Regions from separate parts of the Homo sapiens genome. Here all the other regions are linked to region 1. The links are contacts of gene promoters, found by promoter capture Hi-C in blood cells and fetal thymus (Javierre and others, 2016). All regions are on one chromosome and are shown on one strand. The core of a region is centred on a gene start or on the middle of the fragment in contact, and the rest is flanking DNA. Distances in the headings are between cores, read along the strand shown. Region 1 holds the start of SPEF2 (sperm flagellar 2). Region 2 has its middle 9.1 kb from the start of PRLR. Region 3 holds the start of CAPSL-DT (CAPSL divergent transcript). Region 4 has its middle 38 kb from the start of PRLR. Region 5 overlaps PRLR (prolactin receptor). Region 6 has its middle 37 kb from the start of CAPSL. Region 7 has its middle 84 kb from the start of PRLR.

The links. Contacts are between HindIII fragments. The CHiCAGO score rates a contact against its expected background, and 5 or more counts as called.
Region 2: a fragment that was not itself captured here is called in contact with the fragment with the promoter of SPEF2 in region 1 in 1 of 17 cell types (M2 macrophages); the score reaches 5.2 in M2 macrophages.
Region 3: a fragment that was not itself captured here is called in contact with the fragment with the promoter of SPEF2 in region 1 in 10 of 17 cell types (non-activated CD4 T cells, activated CD4 T cells, naive CD4 T cells and 7 more); the score reaches 12.3 in non-activated CD4 T cells.
Region 4: a fragment that was not itself captured here is called in contact with the fragment with the promoter of SPEF2 in region 1 in 2 of 17 cell types (monocytes and M1 macrophages); the score reaches 6.3 in monocytes.
Region 5: a contact is called between a fragment that was not itself captured here and the fragment with the promoter of SPEF2 in region 1, in 2 of 17 cell types (monocytes and M1 macrophages). The highest score is 5.5, in monocytes.
Region 6: a contact is called between a fragment that was not itself captured here and the fragment with the promoter of SPEF2 in region 1, in 7 of 17 cell types (naive CD8 T cells, total CD8 T cells, non-activated CD4 T cells and 4 more). The highest score is 11.5, in naive CD8 T cells.
Region 7: a fragment that was not itself captured here is called in contact with the fragment with the promoter of SPEF2 in region 1 in 1 of 17 cell types (monocytes); the score reaches 9.0 in monocytes.

Annotation. Positions count from the first base shown.
Region 1 is chr5:35,616,399-35,619,921 of GRCh38, reverse strand. It overlaps SPEF2 (sperm flagellar 2), which reads right to left and starts at 2,059. Exons shown (of 37, transcript NM_024867.4): 1 at 1,867-2,059. The coding sequence starts at 1,924. RefSeq lists an enhancer at 1,209-2,016. The HindIII fragment of the contact is 5,837 bases long and covers 1-3,523 here.
Region 2 is chr5:35,237,757-35,241,490 of GRCh38, reverse strand. No RefSeq gene overlaps it. Among named protein-coding and RNA genes, the nearest start is that of PRLR, 9.1 kb to the right of the region's middle. The HindIII fragment of the contact is 4,523 bases long and covers 1-3,624 here.
Region 3 is chr5:35,938,697-35,942,536 of GRCh38, reverse strand. It overlaps CAPSL-DT (CAPSL divergent transcript), which reads right to left and starts at 3,736. Exons shown (of 2, transcript NR_104630.1): 1 at 3,613-3,736; 2 at 2,544-2,814. It also overlaps a transcript of CAPSL not described here. The HindIII fragment of the contact is 4,433 bases long and covers 1-3,545 here.
Region 4 is chr5:35,266,269-35,269,898 of GRCh38, reverse strand. No RefSeq gene overlaps it. Among named protein-coding and RNA genes, the nearest start is that of PRLR, 38 kb to the right of the region's middle. The HindIII fragment of the contact is 4,880 bases long and covers 1-3,630 here.
Region 5 is chr5:35,120,933-35,124,624 of GRCh38, reverse strand. All of the region lies in intron 1 of PRLR (prolactin receptor), which reads left to right. Among named protein-coding and RNA genes, the nearest start is that of AGXT2, 75 kb to the right of the region's middle. The HindIII fragment of the contact is 1,790 bases long and covers 1,264-3,053 here.
Region 6 is chr5:35,899,804-35,903,904 of GRCh38, reverse strand. No RefSeq gene overlaps it. Among named protein-coding and RNA genes, the nearest start is that of CAPSL, 37 kb to the left of the region's middle. The HindIII fragment of the contact is 546 bases long and covers 1,889-2,434 here.
Region 7 is chr5:35,312,634-35,316,447 of GRCh38, reverse strand. No RefSeq gene overlaps it. Among named protein-coding and RNA genes, the nearest start is that of PRLR, 84 kb to the right of the region's middle. The HindIII fragment of the contact is 4,866 bases long and covers 1-3,814 here.

The DNA.
Region 1 (3,523 bases), core at 810-3,309:
GCCTAAATGTTGTTAAAATTCTTACTTAGTCTTCAGCCCTTTTATGTTTATCCTCCACCTCTCAAAACCTAAATTCCCAAAACTAATTAAAATTATAATGGCATCTACTGTTTTTATTTTATGTATCTTTATTAATTTCATTTATTTCTCCTAAAAGTATTTCAAAATGTTGCAATAGAGTCCTGGGGACTTCAGCAAAGGGTGTTTTTTGTTTGTTTGTTTGTTTTGTTTTTTGTTTGTTTTTTGAGACAGAGTCTTTCTGTGTTGCCCAGACTGGAGTGCAGTGGCGCGATCTCGGCTCACTGCAATCTCTGCCTCCTGGGTTCAAGCGATTCTCCTGCCTCAGCCTCCCAAGTAGCTGGGACTACAGGCACCCGCCACGACGTCCGGCTAATGTATTTTTAGTAGAGACAGGATTTCACTATGTTGGCCAGGCTGGTCTCGAACTCCTGACCTCATGATCTGCCCACCTCGGCCTCCCAAAGGGCTGGCATTACAGGCGTGAGCCACCGCACCCGGCCCGGGTGTGGTTTTTACTAATAAAATAAATGAACTAAATTAAACTAAGCAATATGTAACTGCTTTTCTTTTAGAAGAGTACAACTTAAGGGCATGATATTTTATTTTGGCTCCTATGGTGAGACAGGAATAAGAAACAATAAATGCTAAATATTGTCCTCAGTCCATCATATTTTAGCAAATAAACAGTTGGAGACACAATGGGATAATCGTAGAATACCAGGAAAGAATTTATTGCAGTTCACAGGGAGTGTGTAGATGGTTATTTGACAAAGAAAGAGTCTGAGGTTTATGCCTCAAGAAATGCAACAGGAGATGCTCCGTGCTAAAGATCCTCATGCTGAGAGTATTAATAACTACTTTGCACCCACAGAAACACTACCGATCTAGCAACTTCTGTAGATAAGCTAAGGTTGAACTGGCACCACTGCCTCTCTGGTAGCAAGCTGGTGTTAAGCAAGTTCTTCTGGGAAAATGGACTGAAATGACTTGCCCTGAAAACCTCTTCCCTTAAGCAAAAAAAGAAAAAAAGACAAACAAAACCAACTGAAAAATGAACTCCTGAAGAATTACAGGGCAGTCAAGGAAGCTGCCAGCATGTAAAATTGTCTCTGTGGTTGTCAGACTTGGAAACTTTGGGTGGCAACTGCATGGTTAGGATAAAATTAGGTTGGTGAATAAGGTCAGCTTTGGGCAAGAGCCAATAGTGACCAGAAATAGCTAGTTTGTGATTTGGGGCTTAAAATTTACTAAAATTTGTAAATGTTAACATATTCTACATTAACTTATTTTTCACCCACCCTCCCCTGCTGGTCAGTTAAGTATGGAAAGCATTATTAGGTCCATTTTATAGAGAAGGAAACACATTCAGAGAAGGTATTGTAACTTGTCCAGTGGCTTCATATTTCATCGACTAGCCACCACACCATGCTTCTGCTTCTGGTGATGTGAAGGAGGCATCGTTGGGGTCAGACTACAAAGTCCAGCAAAGTTCCCTCTCCACAGAAGCAAAGGAGACCTTCCTAAACCCTCTGATTGCCTAGAACCACATCACAAAGTCAGAATGCCTGCGGGTTGGGCCCACCGTGACAAGGGTAACTCGAGAGCGGCAGAGTGGGGACGTGACAAGGCCTTGCCCTGGCTGGGGTGAGCTGTAGGGAGGTGGCGGGACGGACCTGGGGCACCGCCGAGCCGAGTTGCTCACTGTGGGATGCTGCCGGCTACGCAGGTGCCCCACCTGTGCAGCTCGCGCCCTGCCCGCCACCTTCCCTGAGTGCGCTGCGCTGCGCTGCAGGCTCTGCGCCCCGCTAGCCCCTCAGACGCTCGCCCCTGGCCGTGGTCACTCACTCACGGTCCGGGACACCTTCAACTCCTTGTTGAGCCACTGGCACAGGATCTCCGACATGGTTCAGCCGGTGCCTCAGACCGCAGGCGGGGGCTTAGAAACTCGCCAGGAACCAAGCCTGCCAGCCCGCGTCCTCCTGTAGCCAAGGGCAACCCTTTGCTATGGAAGCGTATCCAGGCTGGAACTAGGCGAAAGGCCTTAGAGAAGAGGGGACGCTAGGGCTCAGCCGCAGAGGACAGAAAATCGTGTTTCGCCACCTGCTGGCGGGTAAGACCTGAGCGTGCGCCAGCGCAGGAGGAAGCCGTTGGGGGCCTGTGAGAGAAGTTAGGGAGCAGTGGGTGTGGGGAGAGGCGAGGCGGGAACACTTAGGGACACAGCAGGAGCTTCTTAGGTGAGCAGAAAGTAAAACCAGAGTCTCCGCAGGGCTCCGTGGCTCACGCAAATAATCCTACCACTTTGTGGAGGGGGTGGCGCTCGACTGAGCCTGGGAGTTCAAGACCAGCCTGGGCAAGGTAGCAGAAACCGTTTTTTTTTCTGTAAGAAATTAGGCGGCCGTGGTGGCGTGCGCCTGTGGTCCCACCAGCTCAGGATGCTGACGTGGAAGGATCAACCCAGGAGGCGGAGTTTACAGTGAACCGAGATCGAGCCACTGCACTCCAGCCTGGGCAACAAAATGAGACTCTGTCTCAAAAAAGAAGAAGAAAGAAGAAAGAATAACAAGAAGGAGAAGGAGAGGGAGAGGAAGAGGAGGAGGAGAAGAGGAAGAACAGGAGGAAAAGAAGAAAGAGAAGGAGAAGAAGGAGAACAAGGAGAAGGAGGAGAACAAGGAGAGATCAAAGAAGAGGAAGAAGAAGAAAAAAGAAGAGGAAGAAAAAGAAGAAGGGTATTTGGGGTATCCATCACCTTGAGTATTTATCATTTATATACGTTGGTAACATTTCAAATCTTCTCTTCTAGCTATTTTGAAATATACAATGTATCATTGCTAACTATAGTCACCCCAGTTGCTAGCTAACATTAGACCCTATTTCTTCCATCTAACTATAAGTTTGTACCCATTCACCAACCTCTCTTCATTTCCCCTTCCCACCCTCACATCCTTTCCAGTCTCTGGTACTCATAATTTTGTTCTCTATCTCCAGGGGATCAACTTTTTTAGCTACCACATATGAGTAAAACATGCAGTATTTGTCTTTCTGTTGCCTGGCCTATTTCATTGAACATAATGGCCTCCAGTTCATCCATGTTGCTGCAAATGACCTGTTTTCATTCTTTTCCATGGACAAATGGTATTCCGTTATGTATATATACCATTCTTTCTTTTTCCATTTGTTCGCTGATGGACACTTAGATTTATTCCATATCTTGGCTATTTTGAATAGTTCTGTGATAAACATGTGAGTGCAGGTATCCCTTTGATATACTGACTTCTTTTCCTTTGGATAGATACACTGTAGTGGAACTGCTGGATTTTATGGCAGTTCTGTTTTTAGTTTTTTGAGAAACCTCCATACTGCCTTCCATAGTGGTCATACTAATTTACATCCCCACCAACAGTATGAGTTCCCTTTTCTCCACATCTTCTCCAGCATCTGTTGTTTTTTGTCTTTTTAATAATAACCATTCTAACTGGGGTAAGATGGTATTTTATTGTGGTTT
Region 2 (3,734 bases), core at 114-2,613, 380 kb after region 1:
ATAGCCAAAAGAATTGACATCAGGATCTCAAAGAGATATTAACAATCCCATGTTCCTTGTGCATGATTCACAATAGCCGAGATATGGAAACAACCTAAATGTCCCTCAATGGATGAATAAAGAAAACGTGGCATATATATACAATGGAATACTGTTCGGCCTTGAAAAAAGAAAAAAGAAGAAGAAAATCCTGCCATATGTGACAATATGGATGAACCTGGAGGATTTTATGCTAAGTGAAATAAGCCAGTCACAGAAGGACAAATAATGCATGATCACATTTATATGAGGTTTTCTAAAATATTCAAACTCACAGGAGCTGAGAGTACAATGGTGATTGCCAGAGGCTGTTGGGACAAAAGAAAGGGGAATTTTGTTCAACAGGTAGAAAGTTTCAGTTATGAAAGATGAATAAGTTCTAGAGATCTGCTGTACAACATTGTGCCTATATTTAACAGTACTGTATTGTACACTTACAATTTTGTTAAGAGGGACGATCTCATGTTAAATGTTCTTATTACAATTAAAAAAAAACAAAGAATATTCACTACATATCAGAGACCTCATTGGAAATTTACCTGACAGTGTGTTCTCAGTCATATGATTCTTCAGTGTTACAATCTGGTAAGTGGAATTTGTGACATCAGCCTGCCCTTATATCTCCCCTAACAAGTTAGAGTTGGAGACGCCCATAAATTTGAGTCAGTTTCCCTGGGTGCCAATTGGAGACTTCAGGAAGAACATTCACTTTACAGTCACTTGGGGTTTAGGAACTCTGGCACTAGAGCAGCACTTCTCAAACTTTTACATACATGTAATCACCTGGAGTTCTTGTTAAAAATCAGATTCTGATCCAGTGACTCTGAGGTGGAGCCAGGTGTTGGTTCTCATTTCCAACAAACTCTCAGGTGGTGCTTCTGGATCCAGCTCTGGGTTGTGAAGCACTAGACCACTGGCCTTTGAACCCTTGTGTCCGTCAAGTGCTGGGCTAGCTGCATAAGAGTCTTCTGGGAAAACATATCAAATACAATTGCCTAGGCTCTTCTTCCCCAGGGACACATATTGAATAGGCCTGCAATGGGGCCTTGGAATTTGCATTTTAATGGCCACCTCATGTTATTCTGATGCACAGCTATGTTTGAGAATTATGGCTCTAAAGCAAAGCTCTCCAAGAAAGAAGTACATACCTAGGTATACAAGATGATCCAGTGAGTTGAAGTATGAAAATAATATAGTAGTTATTTGGGGTATTTTTTCTAAGAAAGAAACTAATCTTTACTGGTATTTAGATTGACAATAGTGCCTTCACTGAGTTCTCAAATTAGCTCAACACAAGTTCTGGAAACTACACAAGATAATCTCCAGAATCAAAAAGAGTTCAGCAAACACACAGGGGTTGCCATGGTACCTCCACTGCTTGATTGCCATTTATGTGCTACAGGTTTTCATCAATGCAGTTTATTTTATAAAAGCAAGACCTTTAGAATATGCAACTTGACAAAATAGGGAGTGAGTATGAAAATGTCTGGTACCACACAGAAGTTTCTTGTTTAATTCATGACGAAGTAGTAAAAAAGTTGTTGGATTTAAAAATGAGTTGTCCATTTCCTTTTACAAAACGATAATTGTTCCCAAAGTGTAAATCTCAAATGCATGATGCTGAGTGAAAGAATGCTACATACTGTACAATTCTACTTACATGGCAGCCTGGAAAAGGGAAACTATAAGGATAGAGAACAGATTAATGGTTGCCAGGGGACAGGGTAGGGACAGGGTTTGGCTACGCAGAAGCATGAGCGTATTTTGAGGGGCCGGGCTGCGGGGCGGTGGGGTGTGCGGGAGTAATGAAACCATTCTACACCTACATTGTGATGGTTATGTGACTTTTTGCATTTGTCAAAGCTCCTAGAGATATACACTAATGAGTATGAATTTTATAGCAAGTTACACCCTAAAAACATTCACTTAAAAAAAAGTAAGTTTTGCTGAACAAAAAGAAAATTTCTACCACCTTTCATGCAGTATATTTTTCAGCCATAATAGGTGTAAAACTAAAAACTGAAAATAAACTAAACTTAGAACCAGATCTGCATATCACTGTGTCTCAAAGTGTTAAGCCAACATCTTTTTTTTAAAAAAAAGCATACTTAATCACATTATTCTCATTAAAATTTTGATAATTAATAATTTCAGAACTAAATGGTTTATACCATTAAAAATAAAATTATTTATTTATTATTTTAAATAATTTTGACTTTTATTTTAGATTCGGGAGTACGTGTGCAGGTTTGTTACATGGATGTATTGCATGACACTGAGGTTTGGGGTATGAATGATCACGTCATCCAATGAGCGCAGTACCGAATAGGTAGTTTTCAGTCCTTGCCCCGCTCCTTCCCTTCCCTTCTAGAATTCCTCATTGTCTATTGTTCCTATCTTTACGTCCATGCATACTCAAAGTTTAGCTCCCACTTATAATAGAGAACATGAGGTATTTGGTTTTCTGTTCCTGCATTAATTTGCTTAGGATAATGGCCTCCAGCTGCATCCATCTTACTGCCAAGTACATGATTTGGGGTTTTTATGGCTGTGTAGTATTCCATGGTCAAATTTTTGTTTCATCTTATTTCATTCTTTTAAAATTTCTACTTTCATTCATTTATAATACAGTAGTACATATATATAATTTATGACTAAAAATACATATGTATTTGGAAAGGCATGCTAAAAATGATTTTACTGCTAAGATGATAAACAGAAAACTTTGGAGGTCACTTCTCTAGAAAATAACTCTTCAAAATTTAATGTACGTAGGAACTACCTAGGGATCTTGTTAAAATATAAAGTCTGATGCAGCAGGAAGTCTCTCACCAGATCAAATGCTGGCACCTTGATCTTGGACTTCCCAGTCTCCAGGACTGTGAGAAATAAATTTATGTTCTTTATAAATTAAAGAAAAAATACAAAGTCTGATTCACAAAGTAGGGATGGGGTCTGAGATCTTGCATTTCTAATAAGATTATGATTAATCTAATAAGTTGAAATCATTTGTTTTGGTTTAAACTAATTACCAAGTCAATTCATTCTAATACCTTCCGGGTTCACTCATAGACTAGGCCTAGGGTTAAAATGATAATTAGTATGATGCCAGTGCACCTGGCCCTAAGACTATACTTTGAATAGCAGGACTCAGACCACAGTAGCCCGAAGACATCTATGCAGCTATTATAGAGACTAACAACTGCTGCATTTGATTCAGCAGACTCAGTTTTCCCTCTTTGGGTTTGGGAGACATGAATTCTTATCAGTCAATAGGCCAGCTCTCTTAGCATCTTCCCATGGAGCAAATGATTCCCATTCCCATGCTCATAAAAGCTGATTTTACTTAGGTCACTGCTTATCCACCAGCGTGGGTTTCCTTAGAAGGAAGGACACATTGTCTAATAATAGCAGTGCCTTATATTTACACATGGTTTATAATTAACCAAATGTCAACTCATATCAGCCTCACAATGACCTTTGGAGGTAGAACAAAGCAGATGTATTATAAACCCATTTGCAAGTGCTACATGACAGAAGCAAGCACAGTGCTTTCTTTCAGAGTTGGAGTGATCAGGCAAAGCTTTAAGAAGAAAGTACCATGGAGTCTGAAGATCAAGAATGGGTAAGGTTTTTAGATGAAGGGTGGGAAATAACATTCCAAGAAGAGAGGATGGATTCAAACACACTGTAGA
Region 3 (3,840 bases), core at 80-2,579, 320 kb before region 1:
CAATTCCTTTGCAAAGTCTATCAGTCAGGGTTCCTCATTAAAACAGAGCAGTAAGGTACCTTTTTTTTTCAAGGAATTGGCATAAATGATTTTGGAATTTTAAGAGTTGGCAATCTGAAATCTGTAGAGCAGGCCAGCAGGCTGGAAACTCTTGGGTGGGAACTGATATTCCAGTCCTGAGGCAGAATATCTTCAAAGAAACTTATTGCAGATATTAATCACGTCTAAAAAATAACATAAGAGCAACACATAGATTAGGTTTTGATTTAATAACTAGGTACAATGGCATATGTCAAAAAACACAGTTTTATACAACTCTTCTATAGCATACTGGGAATATACTAACTCTTCCCCAGAGTGGAGGTCCTTGGGTGATGTTCACTCTTATTCTTGATATTCTGTAACATAAATACTGTGAAGTAATATATTAGATTTTAAGGAGATAAAGTGAGAAGAATACGATAGTATTCTACACACACAAATTCATAACAAAATACAAGGTAAATACTCAAAACATTTACAATCCTTTTGCAACTGATCATATGGTGATAGCTAGCATTTGTATTTCATATACCTTTGCCCTCAGCAAGTACCGCAATTGACTTTTTGCCTGATTGGGAAGGGGACCCAAATATTCATTCTTGAAGAGTTGGGGTTATTAGTTTTCCTTACTGAATTGGGTTATTGTAGATTTTTTGTTGACTTTAATAAAAGGGCATGGGCATAATTAGTGATGTGTTAACAGAGTTCCTTTATTCCAGGCTTACTCTTCTTTTTAATGACCTATAACAGTAAACCAACGAAATGATTGCAGCTGTGACAAGTGCTACAAAGAAGATGAAAACATAGTATTCGCTACTCTTTTTCCAACTTTTATTTTATGTTCTGGGGTATATGTGCAGGTTTGTTACACAGGTAAATGTGTGCCATGGTGGTTTGCTGCACAGATCCTCCCATCACCTAGGTATTGAGCCCAGCATCCATTAGCTATTCTTCCTGATCCTCTCCCTCCTCTCCCCACACCCTGTGACAGGCCCCAGTGTGTGTTGTTCCCCTCCGAGTGTTCATGTGTTCTTATTATTCAGCTCCTATTTATAAGTGAGAACATGTAGTATTTGGTTTTCTGTTCCTGCATTAGTTTGCTGAGGATGGCTTCCAGCTCCATCCGTGTCCCTGCAAATCACATGATTTTGTTCCTTTTAAGGCTTACTCTTTACATCAATGTGTAGTAGCAACTCAATTTCCCTTAGTAATCAGGTCTTGCGTGATAAATCCAGTCCAACATTTCAGTCTCCCTAAGCCTTTAGATACCTTCCTCTTCAGTGTCCCAAGGTAATTCTGGTATTTCAGCTTCATTTAGCGTAGGCCACCCTTTGTTTCATCCTTAACTCAACCAAACCCATCGAGCTGCAACTCTATATTGAGAATTTGTGCTTTGTGGGCCTGTATCAATAAATTCACCTTGAGTCAACTTTATGTTCCTTCTACCATTATTTCACACTATTAACTTACATTCTCACATGTATTCACCAGATTTCTGTCTGTATAAATTGAAAAAATACGCATTACTTTTGGAATGTAGTATGTCTCCCATTGGTTCGCAATTTTAATCTCTCTTTCAAGCCTGTTGGGACTAGAGTCTTATTTATAGATATAGATATAGATAGATATAGATATAGATAGATATAGATATAGATATAGATATAGATGATATAGTTCTACAAGCCAAGAGGTTTGGTGGAAGTAGGTTCTGAGGATAATCAGCAGTGTCTTCCAGTTAAAATACCTCAGAGGTGCTAGTACACTTTCCTTTGAAAAATCAGGATGAACCTTCTCAGACATGAATAGCAGGGTTGCTCCTACTGGCAAAGAAGATGCAGGAGAATTTAGAGGTTAAGTGTCCTCAGCTTCATCAGGATCTACCCTACAGGTTTCATTCCGATTTTCAGAATCTCATTCCTTCCTAATCAATTCCCTCAGTTTAGCAGAAGATACTTTGCCTGGTTGGGAATTCAATTTGCACTGTAATTCTGCCACTCTCAGGATGAGACTCCAGATTTGATTTTCTGAAACCTCAGGCTGATGACAATGGGAGATAAGTACGTTCCTCCAGGAAGACATAGAAGGTTTCAGATCATTTATGTGGAGCTTGAACTTGGAATTTCAAGCCCTGAGTTCATCATTTTTCTTTACTTTGTCTACCACAGTTACAAGCAGTCATCCTCATTACATTTATTAGTTTGACTAAAATATTTTAAGCTATCATGATTACCTAGAGATTTGCCATTTATGAATATTTGATTAGGAATCCAGTAGTAATATTTTACAAATCTTTTTACCGTATTACACCATAGACTATCATTGTCTTCTTTACCACTGGAAAGAGTACTTATGCCTTAAAATATAATCAATATTTTATATTGATTGTCAGAAACCCAATACCACAAACCCAGATCCAGTTTTTTGAACTGGTAAAACCCTTGGAATTACACCAGTTGCTAGCAGTGGAAACAAGCAAAAGCATTGCTTAAGTACTCCAGAGATTTTGTTCTTTTTACTTTATTTGACACAACCTGGAGGCAGACTATTGAGGGCTTGCACGGTGGCTCCATCATGCTGTCCGTTGTCCCAATTTTCCTGTTTCTTTTTTATCTTTTCTTAAATTATTGCACCAAACTTACTCTCCAGTAGGTGGCTTTCAAGAAATACTTCATATTTAAATGCCCATGCCCTCATATTTGCTTCTGCATTCACAGATGAAATTAAGTTTCTTCTTAAAAGTTTCAAATGCGTGATATCTTGTGGGTTAAACCACTGAAAAGAAAACATTAGACATCTGAGGTTGCCCTGGAAGAACCACAGTTCTAATTGCTTAATTCTGGGACAATTCTTCAGACAATTCAGATAAAAGGATGAAATAGCTACTATGTATACTCCCTGCAGATATAGCAAAGGACCCAAGCCCTTGTCAAATCCATGAAAGAACTTGCCTAGTAGTCTGCAGAGCTGGGTGCCTGGCATCTATTCCGTTTTGTGAGTTCTTATACTGCAAGGATGTTGCACACAGCCAGGATTATGTTATATACAGAGATGTGTGTGTGTGTGTGTGTGTGTGTGTGTGTGTGTGTGTGTGTGTGTGTCAGAGAGAGAGAGAGAAAGAGAGAGGTGTAAGGTCTGAATCACCACTAATTATACCTGCCTGCTCCTGAAAGCAGGACGTGCAGGAGTGGGAATGACAAGGATAGGGTGGATGTCATAGATACACAATGAAAGAGAGCATAGTGTAGATATTTTCCTCCAAATAAGCCACTAGATTTCTTCTTATCTGGCAAAGTAACTGCTAGGGAACATGTGAAAAACATAAGTAAAAAGAAACAAAAAGAGAAAAGAAGAGAAGAAACCAAGGATGAAAACAGCAGAAATGACATCCTCTGCAAATGCAGAGAAGGAGGGAGAACCTTGAATCACCTATAATTACCCCTGCCTGCTCCCAAGAGTTGTGGTTTTAAGTATCACCTGGCAATGAGGCACCCTAGCAGTAAGCTTTCTGGGGACTACAGAAGGACAGGAAGGTGCTGCCTAAAAGAAAGAAGACAATGTGCTGAATACTACCTTACAAAACATGGGAGACAAGTTTTGATGCTGTTCTAGAAACCAAACCATTGCCAGCAAAACTTCTGGCTGGCTTCTCTCCCAGTGCAAATGGCTTGAGCTTTCACAGTCACTGAGATTTCCTAGGCAACAGGAGTGTAAACTTGAGAAAAGGCAGAACCAGAGTAGAGATTGACAGTGAGCTGAGCCAATCAGGCTGTGAATCTGCAGCAGTGATCCCAGGTCCTC
Region 4 (3,630 bases), core at 687-3,186, 350 kb after region 1:
AAGACCTGACATATGGACTTGGCTATGGGATTGGCAAGGAATAAATAAACATAAAATATTATATGGTGTAAAACTTAGTGGCTTATTGAACAAAGAAGTTGAGGAAAAGAAATAAACCAAGATGGCTCTAAGAAAGTATGAGAATGGTGGTGGCCATGATAGAAATATCAGTAGACAGTGGATAGGAAAAATGGCTTTAGGAAAAATTATCTTTCAATATAATGACTGTAGAGAACTACACTATAAATTAAGCTATAGTGAGAATGGCAGAATGTTGAAATTAGAAAATTGCTTAGAGATTGGCTAGTTCCATTATCTGATTTTACAGAGAAAACCAAGGCAATCACATAGGACCCTGCATTTAGAAGGGCCCTGTGCTTGGTTTAATGCTCTGCTCTTGCTCTCTTGAAATTCTTAATCATTTTTGAACAAGGGTCTCTGTATTTTTATTCTTCACTGGACCCACAAATTAAGTAGCTAGTCTTGTGCATACTCCAGACTTTCCATGTTGATTCTGACTTACTTGATGAGTGTGAGATTATCTGTTCCTCATATTAATAGAATCCTAAGATTGGGGAGGGGTGAAGGAGGAGAATGGTTTTGTTCTTACCACATTGCATTGCTTGTCACTACACTGAGTGTCTTCCTATTAGTAGCCATTTTCTAGGCGATGAATCATCATGGTGGCAATTGGTCTGTGACCCAGATCTTCAAGGTGCTGATAAGTGACATACTGAATTCTCAAAGGAGAGTTCTGTTGTAAGGAAATGGAGGCTGTCCTTTTGTGGAGATGCAGTCCCATGAACACTGAATCTGCTAACTGTAGTATTACATAATATTATGTGGTATGTGTCAGGCCTCTGAGCCCAAGCTAAGCCATCATATCCCCTGTGACCTGCACGTTTACATCCACATGGCCTGAAGCAACTGAAGATCCACAAAAGAAGTGAAAATAGCCTTAACTGATGACATTCCACCATTGTGATTTGTCTCTGCCCCACCCTCACTGATCAATGTACTTTGTAATCTCTGCCACCCTTAAGAAGGTTCTTTATAATCTCCCCCACCCTTAAGAAGGTTCTCTGTAAGGTTCTTTATAATCTCCCCCACCCTTAAGAAGGTTCTCTGTAATTCTCCCCACCCTTGAGAACGCACTTTGTGAGATCCACCCCCAGCCTGCAAAACATTGCTCCTAACTCCACCGCTTATCCCAAAACCTATAAGAACTAATGATAATCCCACCACCCTTGCTGACTGTCTTTTTGGACTCAGCCTGCCTGCACCCAGGTGCAATAAACAGACTTGTTGCTCACACAAAGCCTGTTTGGTGGTCTCTTCACGTGGACGCATGAGACAGTACGGTCCTAAAGAAACTCATGTCACACTAGTTTCTTGAGACTGATATGTAGCTGAAGCAGAAGGATCACTTGAGCCCAGGAGATCAAGACCAGCTGGGTAACATAGCAAGACTCCACCTCTACAAAAAAAAATTTAAAAATTAGCTTGGCAGCCAGGTGCGGTGGCTCAGGTCTGTAATCCCAGCACTTTGGGAGGCTGAGGCTGGCAGATCAAGAGGTCAGGAGATCGAGAGCATCCTGGCTAACGTGGTGAAATCCCGTCTGTACTAAAAATACAAAAAGTAGCCAGGCGTGGTGGCAGGTGCCTGTAGTCCCAGCTACTCGGGAGGCTGAGGCAGGAGAATGGCGTGACCCGGGAGACAGAGCTTGCAGTGAGCCAAGATCATGCCACTGCACTCCAGCCTGGGCGAGAGAGTGAGACTCTGTCTCTAAAAAAAAAAAAAAGAAAAAAAAAAAATTGGCCTGGCATAGTGGCACACACCTGTAGTGCCAGCTACTTGGGAGGCTGAGGCAGGAGAATTCCTGAGGCCCAGGAGGTTGAGGCAGCAGTGAGCTATAATCAGGCCACTGCACTCCAAGCCAGGTGACAGAGCAAGACCCTGTCTCAAAAAATGAAATAAAGAAAGAAAAGAAAATGGGGCACATCCACAGAGGTGTTTTTGTGTTTGAGTAATTAGCTCTTATAATTAAATAATTTAGGTGGCAGGAGGGTTTTTCTTTTGACTACTCGGTATTGTGTGTTACTTCCTACTCTATTAGCAAGAAAGGAATCCTATTTTGCTCAAAAAGCATGCTCTATTGCAGTTTCATAAGTGTTAGAGCAGGGCGTCCTAACCTTGGTCTGTGGTTAGAAGGGGTTGATAATATCCCCTGAAATTACATGCAAAATGTGGGTTGGTTGCGGGTGTCTGGAGAAAAATACCTGAGTATTTCTCTGCTTGGAATGCTGGCCCCCTCCTTTCTGCCTGTCTCATTCCTACCTGGTTGTGAAGGCCCAACTCAAATCCCACCTCCTTCTAGAAACCTTCTCCCAGCTGCTGCTCTCCCCAACTCCTCCTTGTTCTTGGAAAACTCTCCTACCTTTAGCCTCCTGGGGATTTTGTCACCTACATTATTTGTCTGTCCTTTGGTACACTTTGGTCCATTTCCCCAGTATACTGGGAGACTTCGGAGGAGAAGTAAAATTGGCTTACCCTACATACACTACATAATACACTATATGAGATACTGAGAAGCCTTTAGTGAGTACTTAGTGAGGCTGAGGCTCTTGAGAATGTCTCAGTCTTAGAGAATCTCTCCTGGAACACTCCAAGGGATCTGAAAAACAACTCCAAATATCTCCCCATTCACCTTGCTCCCACCAAGCTGACCTCATTAGGTTCCACTTCATGTTTATTCATGTCTCATTGAATGTTTCACATTCATTAACCCCACTTACATTCACTTTGCATCTGTGTTGACAAAGACTGTGTGGGATCTTAATTTACGGAACACAATAATGTGTGATAAAAATTTTCTGGAGTTTTAAATGACACTTCTCTGGTGTCCTTGAATAATAAATAAATCTCCTGAATATGCTTTAATATGCTCCAAATAAATCAGGTATTCATTATAAGAATATGTCACACTCTCCTTCAGTTAAATTGTAATGAAAGTACTGGGGATATATAATGTGAATTAATAGGACTTGCTTTAGAAATGTACAGCCCACTTAGTGCATGTGTTTGTGAGTGTGTGCATACTTCACGCGTGGATTTATGTATGTGTGAGATCTTGTTTCTTCACCTCTATTATAGCACCTGTCAAAAACTTCTTTGTATTAGAATTATTTACACACTTATTCGTCCTTCTCCTTTAAATCAGAGGTTCCCTAGGGAGGGAACGAAAGATCCTTTTCCTGAATCTTTCCACTGAGTCTAGAGCATGCAATGTTTTGCATATGAAGGGTCACAATCAATGTTAGCTTACTTTGAAAGGGTGTATTCATAATGTTATGAAATGTTAAGGGGATACTCGTTTGAGCACTGCAGGTTTTGGCAAGAAAGCAACATCAGGCATATGCTTGCTTAAACTGCTTCTTCCAGATGGATAGTGCATATCAGAGAGGTTTCTGCCTATCAGAAGAAACAGCATTTCTTCCCACTTGGGAAATGGCCAGTCTTACCAGCACGAATAATTTTAACACAGAGAAGCCTGGAAGGCCTCATCAGGTAAAACTTGCTTTCCTTGATGAATGGCCAGGCAAGTCTTTCCAAATGATTCCTTTTAAAAA
Region 5 (3,692 bases), core at 909-3,408, 500 kb after region 1:
TATAAAATAAATAAATTAAGGAATTTGGCCTGGATGTCAGTGCCTGCAAAAGGGACTTCAATATTCCCCAGTAGATTACTATAAGGATATCTAAACTCTGGACTAGGGGTTATAGACTACAGATAAAACTGTAAGCCTCCTGCCTCCTACAGTCATAGCATTTCGGAGTTGAAAGTCCCTTTTCTGGTCTTGTAGCCCTGATCCAAGTTGCTAACCCCTCTAGGATTTTACGTTGTCTCAGCATAAGCATGCACCATGAGGAGGAGCTCACCTCCTACCAGAGTGGCCCATTTCATCCTTGGCCGTAGCAATCTATTGACTGGTGGGCCTTAAAATTAAAAAGCTACTTTGCCTTGTAATATGACCCATTTGTTTTAGCTCTGCCCAGCCATGGGCAATCGGAATGTCCGGTAAAGAACTCCTCTACCATTTTACTGAACCCAAATTTGCCTTAATGTAATTTCCACCAGTTGGAAGGTCTCTCTTCTTGTGCCTTTGGATACATTTTTTTGATGACTATAGCAGCCCTGAATGATTTCAGAGACAGAGCACAAAGCTCCTGAGAGCTAGTACATTGTCCTTCCCAGTCTTAACTTCTCCTTGTCTTCTATATCATCTATATCTTTCCCTTTTCCTCTGACATCTTCCCCCAGCTCTGTTATAATTCTTTCAGAAATTAAACACAAATTCCTACATGGAAGGCAGAGGAATTCAGTGAAAAGAGCAGAGGAACTTGGTCCAATCCCTGACAAGTTTCCACGTTTAAAGCCTCATAAATACTATGATTTCCCTGATGGGGGTGGGAGGGTAGAATGACAGACTATAAGTGAGTATTTATTATAAGCGTCAATGTACTATAAAGCTACTGAATACTTTAACAGTAAATTCTAAAAGACCTCAAGCAGCTTAGCTCCTTGTTTTACATCAGAACACATTAAAGAGAGAAGCAGCCTGACTTTTCCAAGGACCACGGGACCAGTTAGAGTTAGAAACAGAACTTAGATTTTCTGACTCAAAATCCCTTGCTCCCTCCACTGTCTCTCTGTTAAACAATGAAATCAATAACATCATCCAGGCAAAGGCCCTAGAATAGCACCCAACATGTATTAGGTGCCCAATTATTATAGGCTGAATAAATATGTGAGTGGACAAATCAGTACATGAATAACTAGGACTCATTTTCAATGATGACATTATACAAGTTCCCTCCAAATGTCACTTATGTTTTTAGTCATTCTTTAATTAGCTCCCTATTAAGAAGCTTGGTTCTCAAAGTGTACTTATGAAGATTAAATGAAATAAAGCATTAAAGTGTTTAGAAACAATGTCTGGCAGCCAATAAATGTTAACTAATTGCTGTCTTTCTGTTTTTTAGCCATTTTTAAAAGTAAGATTATGCTGATGCTGTCAGGAGTCTCTACTCTGAAAATCACTTTACAATCCACTAACGAAAGGAATTCTGGAATTGCAAAAGGATTACTACTATTTGTCAATTCCTATCCTTCACCTGTAACTAGGCCACCCACACCTACCCCTTGTAGTTGGCACCCATCAAGACACAAACAAAATATTGGATTCTTTCGCTTCCTCATCTGGGCTTGTGTTTACTCCACCCCTGACCTTTGGGCACTGTCTCCCATTCCCAGTCAACACTTGCCAATTGGACCTGACAGTTGACTTGACTTTACCCTATTTATCTTGCTCCCTCTGTCTCCATCTCAATCTCAATCAAGATTTTGTAATTCCCCTTTGGTTCCTCCACTCTCAGCCACCCTGGTACCTCTACTCCTAAACAAGGCCCATGCCTTTGACTCAAGTGGATGTGCTTGCTTCTGCTCAAGTTCAGCCTGCCCCAAAAGAGTGATTCCCAAGTGCTTTATTGGATAAACTTCCTTTTCATTCAAGAGCTCCACATGCATGTCTATAAATTGCCATATGTAATCTCTATCAATTGCCAGAAATCTTGCAGATTTCTTTCTGAATCTGAGTTTATCTGACAATTTGTCAGGACTAAAGACTAACATTGGCCTAACGTCAGTTTATCTGACAATTTGTCAGGACAAAAGACTAACCTTGGGCTAATGTCAGTAAACAAGAAAGAGCTCAGGAACAGAAAACCAAACACCGCATGTTCTCACTTATAAGTGGGAGCTGAACGATGAGAACACATGGACACATAGGGCAGGAGGTTGGGGGAACAACACATATTGGGGCCTATCAGGGCGTGGGGAGGGAGAGCATCGGGAAGAATAGCTAATGGATGTTGGGCTTAATACCTGGGTGATGGGTTGATCTGTGCGCAAACCACCATGGCACATGTTTACCTATGTAACAAACCTGCACACCCTGAGCATGTACCCCAGGACTTAAAAGTTGAAGAAAAAAAAACAAGAAAGAACTTCAGTAAATTCATCAATTAGGTTTATACCTGTGGTTCTGGTGTGGACAAGAAGTATTTATTATCTTTTTAATCTCCATGTCTTGCTAAATTCATCAATTAGGATGATATCTGTGATTCTAGTGTGACAAGAAATATTTATTGTCTTTTTAATCTCCTCATGTCTTGTGATGAATTACCATGTATTATTTTCTCATTTGTTAATTGTGTATCAACTCCCACTTTATTCCACCCAGAATGTAAGTTTCTTCAGAGCATGGACTTGACCTGTTTATATCCACAGCTCTATCATCAGCACCTAAAATACTATTTGGCAAATAGTAGGCAACCAATTGTTATTGGTTGAATACTGAGTGAATGAAAGAATAAATGAATGACCCAGAAGCAGAATGGAATTGTGGTTGGAGCACAGCCTTTGGCATCAAAGAGATCTCGGTTCAAGTTTTGGATATGCAACTTCTTAGCTATGAGTCTTCTCTGAATTTCAGTTTCTTCATCAATAAAGTAGGGGTAATAATAGTGCCTACCTCATAGATTTTGGGGAGCATTAAATAAGATAATGCCTGTAAGGTTCTTAGCATGATAGCTGGCATATTTTAAGAACTTAGTAAATGTTGTGTATTATTTTCGGTGAAAGTCCTCAAATGTTGAAGCTTATCAGAGGTAATTGAATTATTTAATATGGCTGGTAGTGATGATTGTACTAAAGACAAATTAGTACAATTAGTCTGTCAGCAAGATTTGATTTAAAGAGTCAGGCTGACAAAAAAAATGTATTGGTCACACCCACCATATTTAAAGCACTATACTAGGCTTTCAGGAGGGGGTGGGATGCAAGGATGGATATGACACAGCCCCTTCCCTCTAGGAACGTAGAACTGAGAAGATTTACTATGTGTGCACTGTACCATGCTGAAGATACAGAAATGTGAGGCAGTGTTACCTCCCACATCATCCAACTTACTCTCCATGCTCTGCAGAAAATTCTTCTAAAACACTCAGCCTTTGCTTTGAACCCCTATAATGACAAGAAACTCACTGACTTATGAAACAGATGATTCTCTTTGGGAACAGTAGTCACCACTAGAATGATCTTAAAATTAGCACAAATCTACCCCCCCATGGTTTTTACACATTGATCAAACTTCTGCCTTCTGGGCACCTCTAGAATAAATTCATTTTGCACTCTTCTATCAGAGGTCAGCAAAGTAATGCCTGCAGGCCAGATCCAGCCTGTTTATTTATATAAATAAAGTTTTATTGGAACACAGCCAAGCTTATTCATGTACATGTT
Region 6 (4,101 bases), core at 912-3,411, 280 kb before region 1:
CCTGTTCATGGTACTCCTGTGGCTGAAGTTTTGAAACTGGGCTGGGCGCTCAGATTTTATCTGGGACATCTTGCGCTGTGTGTGGGCAGGCTATTCCAGAAAGCCTTCACCTGGTGGAATGTTTATCTCTCCCCTCTCTGCTTTCTGCCAATTGTGTTGAAATTCCCACCAGCAAGGGCTGGGTGCAGTGGCTCACGCCTGCAATCCCAGTACTTTGGGAGGCTGAGGTGGGTGGATCACCTGAGGTCAGGAGTTCAAGGCCAGCCTGTCCAACATGGTGAAAACCCTGTCTCTACTAAAAATAAAAAAATTAGCTGGGCATGGTGGCACATGCCTGTAATCTCAGCTACTCCAGAGGCTGAGACATGAGAATTGCTTGAACCCGGGAGGCAGAGGCTGCAATGAGCTCAGATCATGCCACTGCACTGCACTCCAGCCTAGAGCAAGACTCTGTCTCAAACAAACAAACAAACAAACAAAAATTCCCACCAGCACAAGGAGGTTGGGTGTGACACGGACTAGGATTTCAATAATATTCCAAAGCAGGTTTTCCATCTTGATGCTTCATGGCTTAACACCTCCTCCTCCCAGCACTAAGCTTTGGCTTCATATCGTTGATGTGTAGGACTCTGCCCATGAAAGGCTACTAGAAGCAAAGATAGCCCAGAGGCTGGAAAATAGATAAGAAAACTACAGCTCTCCTTCTGTGTCTTCTGTATCTAGGGCCAGAGATAAAAGCACAGTGACCAGCCTCTGGTTATGGTGCTGGAGACAATGCCCACCCACCTTGCTGCTGGGTGAAATACCTCCTTTTGACTCTGTCCTTAGCTGCACTCATCCCCCAGTTTGCAGACAGGATTGGGTTAATAGTCTTCTTTAAGATCTTATATACTTAATTGGCTCTGGATTTAGGGATTGAACACACTTGCCATATTTTGTATCAATTCACTGTTTAGGTTTTATTTCATACGCTTGGAAGTTGAGATTCGGATATGTATTAATTTAAAACATGTGAAAACCAGTGCTGCTACATAGGCATTATAGTAGTTATTAAGTAACTTGTTGAGATGCTCAACTTTTTCTTGAGGATGGTGTATCCCCGTATTACCAGAAACTAGTTTTGTTTTTGTTTTTGTTTTTTTACTTAATTGCACAATTGCACAAGTTTGATTTTGTATTGGATTTATTATCTCTGCTCATATAGAGGTTGGTTAGGCCAAAGATACCAAGTGTTATGAAGAAATATGTAGACTTATGTAGAAAACCAGAAGAAATTGTGAAGAAATGTATAGAAAAAAATCCATATATTTTTGCAGCCTGTGCCTTGTAGACTGTGGCTAAGGAGAGGTCCCCTATTTCCTGGGGATGATGGGTTTCAAGGCTTTTGCTCTAGAAAGATTCTTGTCTTTGATTCTGGGTATGACTCATGCCTCAGCTTAACTGAGGCTATAGAGTGAGCATGTGATTCTGAGCAAGGACCAGGTTGCAGCTATCAGCTTAGTCTTCTCCAGTGATACTTTGCTTCCTGTCAAATGGGGGCACAGGGCACAGCTATCCAATTTCAGATAACCCATACTTCATAGTGTATTTGGTCACATTTAGTTGCTTCTCTTCTAGCGGTTTGGGTTCTGGGCCCATGAGCAAGGTTCCACCAAGGCCCTTTCACCCTCTGGAAACAAAATCTGCTAATAACCTAATGGTCAAGGGTCACTGCACTCCAATTCTCATTCTCCTTTATGGCTTCTGGCACAGTCACGAATTATGCATTATTTAGCTCTACTCCTTCTAGTAGGAGTGGGAGGAAAAGAGAAGAGACATTTAAAGAAATCATTTGCTAACACTCTTCTGGATATATTTTTTGTTTATTTAACTTACAGATTTTAAAGCTTACTCCGTTTACAATTTAAAAAATAAGCCCTTAGTTCAGAAGGCAAAACACAATAAAAAGTTGCCAAAACATCCCTCAGGAAAACCTCACCTGTTGGGTCTGGTCCTCAGATAGAAAATTAAACAAGCCAAAGAAAAGAGAATGAAATTAGCAACTTTTTATGAAACAAGAATGATGTATGCAAACATTCTGAGAATGAGAGTTTGTCAGAACAAACCACCCATAACAATACTGAATTTGGATTTCTAACTTGATCAAAGGCAAACCCATGCAAGAATGGCCAGAGACTCTGACTCTCTGCTGCTGTGCACATCATACTTGGATTCTATTCACAGTGCAAATGAGAAACCCAGAATGTGGAAGCTATGCAAACTAAACTGTAGACTGAGGCAGAATTCTTTCTGCTGGTCTGTGGGGCTGGTTTTCACAGTGATTTAAACTGTGATAGGATCTTCCCAGGCACAGATGGCACTTTGGAGGACCATGTACTTGTTCTGTATGGTTTGACAGCAGGCATGGAGTCACATTTCATACCGTAATCAAGCTTTTCAAAGGCAGAGCTGGGTGTTCTCCAAGTAGCTGCAGATTGACTTGGCATACATCATGGCTTGCAGGTGTAAATACATCCCATCAATAAATATTTATTGAGATACATGCTTTTTTTCTAGGCCATGGGGACAGAGCAGTGAACTAGAATAATTGCAAGCAAAACCATTGGCTTTCAAACCAAACTAACAACCCACAGTTGTTAAGAGATCAAAGAGGGTAGAGAGGGAGGGAAAGAACAGGCACCCAAATTCCCCTCCCAGAATCTCATTCAGCCTCTGAAGTCAGGACAGTTGGAGCCCTTTCTGTGGCACTGTGTCGGGGAGTGACGTAGTCAATTTCATGGACATAGACAGCCTATCAAGACAATGCAAGGAAAATCCCTCTCTGTATTTGGAGGCAGATAATTGTGTTGGCTCTTTAATTTTCTTGGCCAAAGTTGATTGTCTCACTGAGCCATGAGAGTACAAGTAGGTAACACTTCCATTCTCACTAAACTACCTGCAGATGCAGTCTATGTTGAAGTTTAATCAAGTGGAGAGATAGAATTTACCAGATGTATTCACAGATGGTGTGTGGGGGCCCTTCTACCTCTGCTTCATGAAATTCTATTAACCTTCTCTGAGTAGTATACCTTTTTTGGATTTATGCATATCTGTTTTGTTATTGTTTTTATTTATTATGTTTTTGATATGGAGTCTCGCTGTGTCACCCAGGCTGGAGTGCAGTGGTGCCATCTCGGCTCACTGCAATCTCCATCTCCCAGGTTCAAATGATTCTCCTGTCTCAGCCTCCGAGTAACTGGGATTACAGTCACCTGTCACTATACCCAGCTAATTTTTTGTATTTTTAGGAGAGATGGGGTTTTACCACGTTGGCCAGGCTAGTCTCGAATCCCTCACCTCAGGTGATTTGCCCACCTCGGCCTCCCACAGTGCTGGGATTATAGGCTTGAGCCACCACTCCCGACCATGCATATCTATTTTGAGTACAGAAATGAAGAACCTCATATTTTCCAATTCCCAAACTGGTCAACAGACTTGCTTTCCTGGAGATTATTGATTGTTCTTTTAAATTAAGATCCTATTGAATGAAGCGGTAAAGTTTTAAATCCTAGAAATGCTTATGACTCAAAGGAAAAACAAAAGCATCAGAAGTCTGACAGATTGTCATTTAATGTTATTGAGTTTCGTGTAACTGATCCTTTTGAAAGCCAATGTTTCTCAGCATGATTTTACTCCTCCAAGTCACTTAAATGAAAACTATGTAACTTTGATAGAGATAGCTAGTTCTTTTATTCCGAAAAAATAAAACCCACCTAGTTAACCCCTAAAATTATATGTTCTAAAACAGGTGATGGGTGAGATATGTTGAAAGAAACATAAACAAATGATTGATGGGGGTTCTGAGAACATCGCTGTGTGAGAAGAATTCTTTTTGCCATTTCAGCTGGTGTGGTGACAGGCTGTGGTGAAACAGCTCTTCCTCTCTGAGAACAGCATGACCTTCTTGTTTAATTCTCACACCTGCCTCGCCAAAGCCATATCTTTTCCCCTGAGCAAAGTATAGTGGAAGAACCTCCTCAGGAGTGAAGCCCACTGAAAATATAAGCAACCAACCAGTAGACAAGGTTTTAATATGGACCTTGCAATGACCAGAAAGGTAGA
Region 7 (3,814 bases), core at 720-3,219, 300 kb after region 1:
GCAATATGACCAGCACCATCCCTGGGCTTTCCAAAAATGGCCTAGAGAAAAAGGCTTGTCAAATGAATTCTTAGTTTTTCTTGTCAGGCTGTGCTTATGTCTCTCTTGACCTCCTGACCTGTGTAAGTTGTCTAAGGTATTCATTGCTTTGAGCTGTCCCTATAAAAGTATCAACTTGATGCTGGTTCTGTGGTAAATAAGAAATAAGAAAATCAAGTCACTGTCTCCCAAAAAGCAATTCAGTGGCTCAGCTGAATCTCTTCCTCCTGGTGTTTCCATGGAACCGAAGTGGACTGGCTCTGCCAACTTCTTTTGCCTTGATTCCTCACTCTTTCAGCTGATGATAGAATCATTTTTGTCCCCAAAACTCACACAGGCACTAGATTTGGGGTATTGACTATGTTACCAGGGAAAGCCTTCCACTGCCATGTAGTGGGGAGTTTCCTCAGAAAGTATATGAAGGCCAAAGAAAGTAGGGAGGGTCCCTGCAAATCCGCAGCAAGCCTTGCCTAAACAAAGGGAAAAGGAGGGTGCTTGGGGGTCGGGGGGCAGGTAGAGGAGGCCTCAGATACGATTTGATATCCTGTAATCCACGGTAGGTGGCCTCTGAACTCTGCCCTGAAAAATCTGTCATGTTGAGACAGAAAGACACCCTGAGGATGAGCACATGTAGATCTCTGATCTCTAAGTCTCTTGCTGGACGCATCCAAGACAATGTGGAATAAAGTAGCAGTTCAGGAAGTGTGTTTCCATGCACTAGTGAAAGGTGAAAATATGAAATAAACTACCCTGGGTTGGTCTTTCATGCCTACTTTTGTATTTTTTTATTTACTTTTGTCATGTTTTTTGATATATAATTGTTTGAAATTTGTATCCATGCAATGTTCCAGCACTGGGAATTATGAGAATGGTTCTGGACCCTACAAAATCAATTGACATGATTTTTCACTTAGAGCAAGACCACATCTTCTGGGCAGGCCCAGTGGCTCATGCTTGTAATCCCAGCACTTGAGACTAAGACGGGAGGATCACATCAGTCCAGGAGTTCAAGACCAGCAGGGTAACAGAGGGAGAACACCCACTCTCTAAAAAAGACTTTTAAACATTAGCTGGGCATACTGGTGCATGCCTCTAGTCCCAGCTCCTCAGGAGGCTGTGGTGGGAGGATAGCTTGGGCCTGGGTGGTTGAGGCTGCAATGAGCCATGATCGTGCCACTGCACTCCAGTCTGAGCAACAGAGTGAGCCTCTGTCTCAAAAAAAATAAAATAAAATAAAGACAACATCTGATTTTGTTCAGTTCACTTTCACCCTACACTGAGTAAATCTCCAGAAAGAAATCTAAGGACTACGTAATCAGTCAATCCACTCAACCCACAACGCTACTGGAGTACACTCATTAAGCCTCAAGAGACCTGTAAAGAAAAGGTCATCCAAAATGGAGCAAATAACCAACCAGCATGCAGGTATTACTGATAGCTAGTACACGCCAAGTCATTGGGGGACTCTGAACTTTCTCTACACATAGTTTTTAAAAGAAAAGATAGTAAAATATCTCCTTCCTTCATAATGCCAACACACACTAGTATGACAATTTGTTACAGTATCATTCCTATGAGGTAGGGGAAAAGAATGATGACACTCATAAATCTATTGGTTTAGATACAAAATAAATTTTCAATCCATGAGTGTGTTCACTGAGAATATATAAAATAAAATAAAATTTGACTTTCAATTTCTTAACTCACAGTCCTATAGCCAAATAAACTGGACCATCCACATCTACTAAAATCAAATTGGCCGCTACTCCAGATTATTGGCTCTGTGGTAGCCAGCCTGCAACATGGCCCCACTCATTCTTACATCCTGGGATTCATGGACTTGTGCATTTCTCCTCCCACTTTTTACCATGGTTGATCTATGTCACCAATAATAGATGGAAAAAATGATGGTGTATTACTTCCGAAGATAAGTTATGAAAGACCTGTGACTTCTGCCTCATGCCTTTTCTCTTGGATTGCTTATGCTGGGAGACACTAGCTACCATGCTGTGAGGACGCTTAAATTTCTTTATGGAGAGGCCTGTGTGTGAAGAGCAACTGAGGCTAGGAGCCAGTGAGGAGTTGAAGAGTCCAAGTCCAATGGCTGCATGAGTGAGCTTGGAAGTAGATCCTCTAGCCCAGTCAAGCCTTGAGTGCAGTCTTGCCCAATATCTCAATCACGACCTCATGAGAGACCTTGAACCATAAACACCCAACTGAGCTGCTCCATAGTGCCTGACTCAGAAACTATAAGATAAATATGTATTGTTTTCAGCCATTACATTTTGGGGAAATTTGTTATCTGGCGGTAGATAAACTAATACCCTCTCTTTCCTGATCTTAAATTATTTTAAGTTCATGCTGTATCATTGATTTCCTTAAATCTACATACCCCAAAGTAACTGTTTTTGTCTTCTAAAAGTGCAAGGCCAGAAATTTTTTTAACCAACTCAAATAACACGTAAGATTTTATTCCAAGAATATATGCTGGAAAAGACTTCACAGTCCTGTTAGCTATAGAGATTGGTTCACAAGGCTTTTCTTTAAGGATTGGGTCATACACAGACACACAAACATATACACATGACCACAATTCATTAATTTGTTGATACAAATCTTATCAAAATGCTAAACTGGAATTGAGACAAAAATAAATGACAGTGGAAGTCATTTTAAATGTATCATCTGCTAAAATGAATTCATCTCAATAAATTCCTCTTAATGCTTTAATTATTTAAAGTAGAAAAACCTCTACACCTGCCCCTCCAGAGAGTGTTAGAACCTAAAAAATTAAGTGCCTGAACCATCCTTCAGTGCCACTTTTCTCTTTATATGAGAGGCAAACACTGAGCATGACTCATTTGCCCTCATGTCTCCCTGGTAAATCCTCATTGTGGCTAAATAAACTGACAGTACGAGTTTTGTGGTTTCAAATCTGCTCCTCAATTTTGCAATATATTCCTAACATGCAGACAATGCCAAGTTCTGCCTGACTTCAGCTATCCCACAGAAGAAGCATGGCCCTGGGCCTCAAATATTTAATTCCCTGAGCTGTGTGTTAGCTTGAAATCCTCTACTCAACCGAATCCAATTTACCTCCTCTTCTGTCAAAGCAGCTTTTAGGCAGAGGTCGATGACTTGAGAAGTCACCTAGTGAAATCTTTTTCAATTCTATGCTATTTACTGAAAAGAAAATTGGGTATACTTAACTCATTGCAAAGTTCCCTGTAACTTTGTGAAATAATTCTCTAATGAAAATAAATGGCTGTATCACTGAGGAGAAGAAGATAAGAAAAGAAAAACTTATTTCCATGCTTTTTTTGTTGTTGTTGATTAAAAATGTCAGTAACCATAAGTATGTGAGCTAATGCATGTGTTAATTAGCTTTATTTAGCCATTCCACAATGTATACATAGTTCAAAACATCATGTTGTACACCACAAATAAACCAATTTTTATTTGTCAATTTAAAAAATTAAAAATTGGCCAGGCACAGTGGCTCATGCCTATAATCCCAGCACTTTGGAAGGCCAAGGTAGGTGGATCACCTGAGGTCAGGAGCTCGAGACCAACCTGGACAACATAGTGAGACCTCAACTCTACACAAAATTAAAATTAGCAGAGCATGGTGGTGCATGCCTGCAGTTCTAGCTACTTGGGAGGCTGAGGCGGGAGGATCACTTGAGCCCAGGAGATCGAGTCTGCAGTGAGTTGTGATTGTACCATTGCACTCCAGCCTGGATGACAGAGGGAGACCCTGCCTCAAAAATAAAAA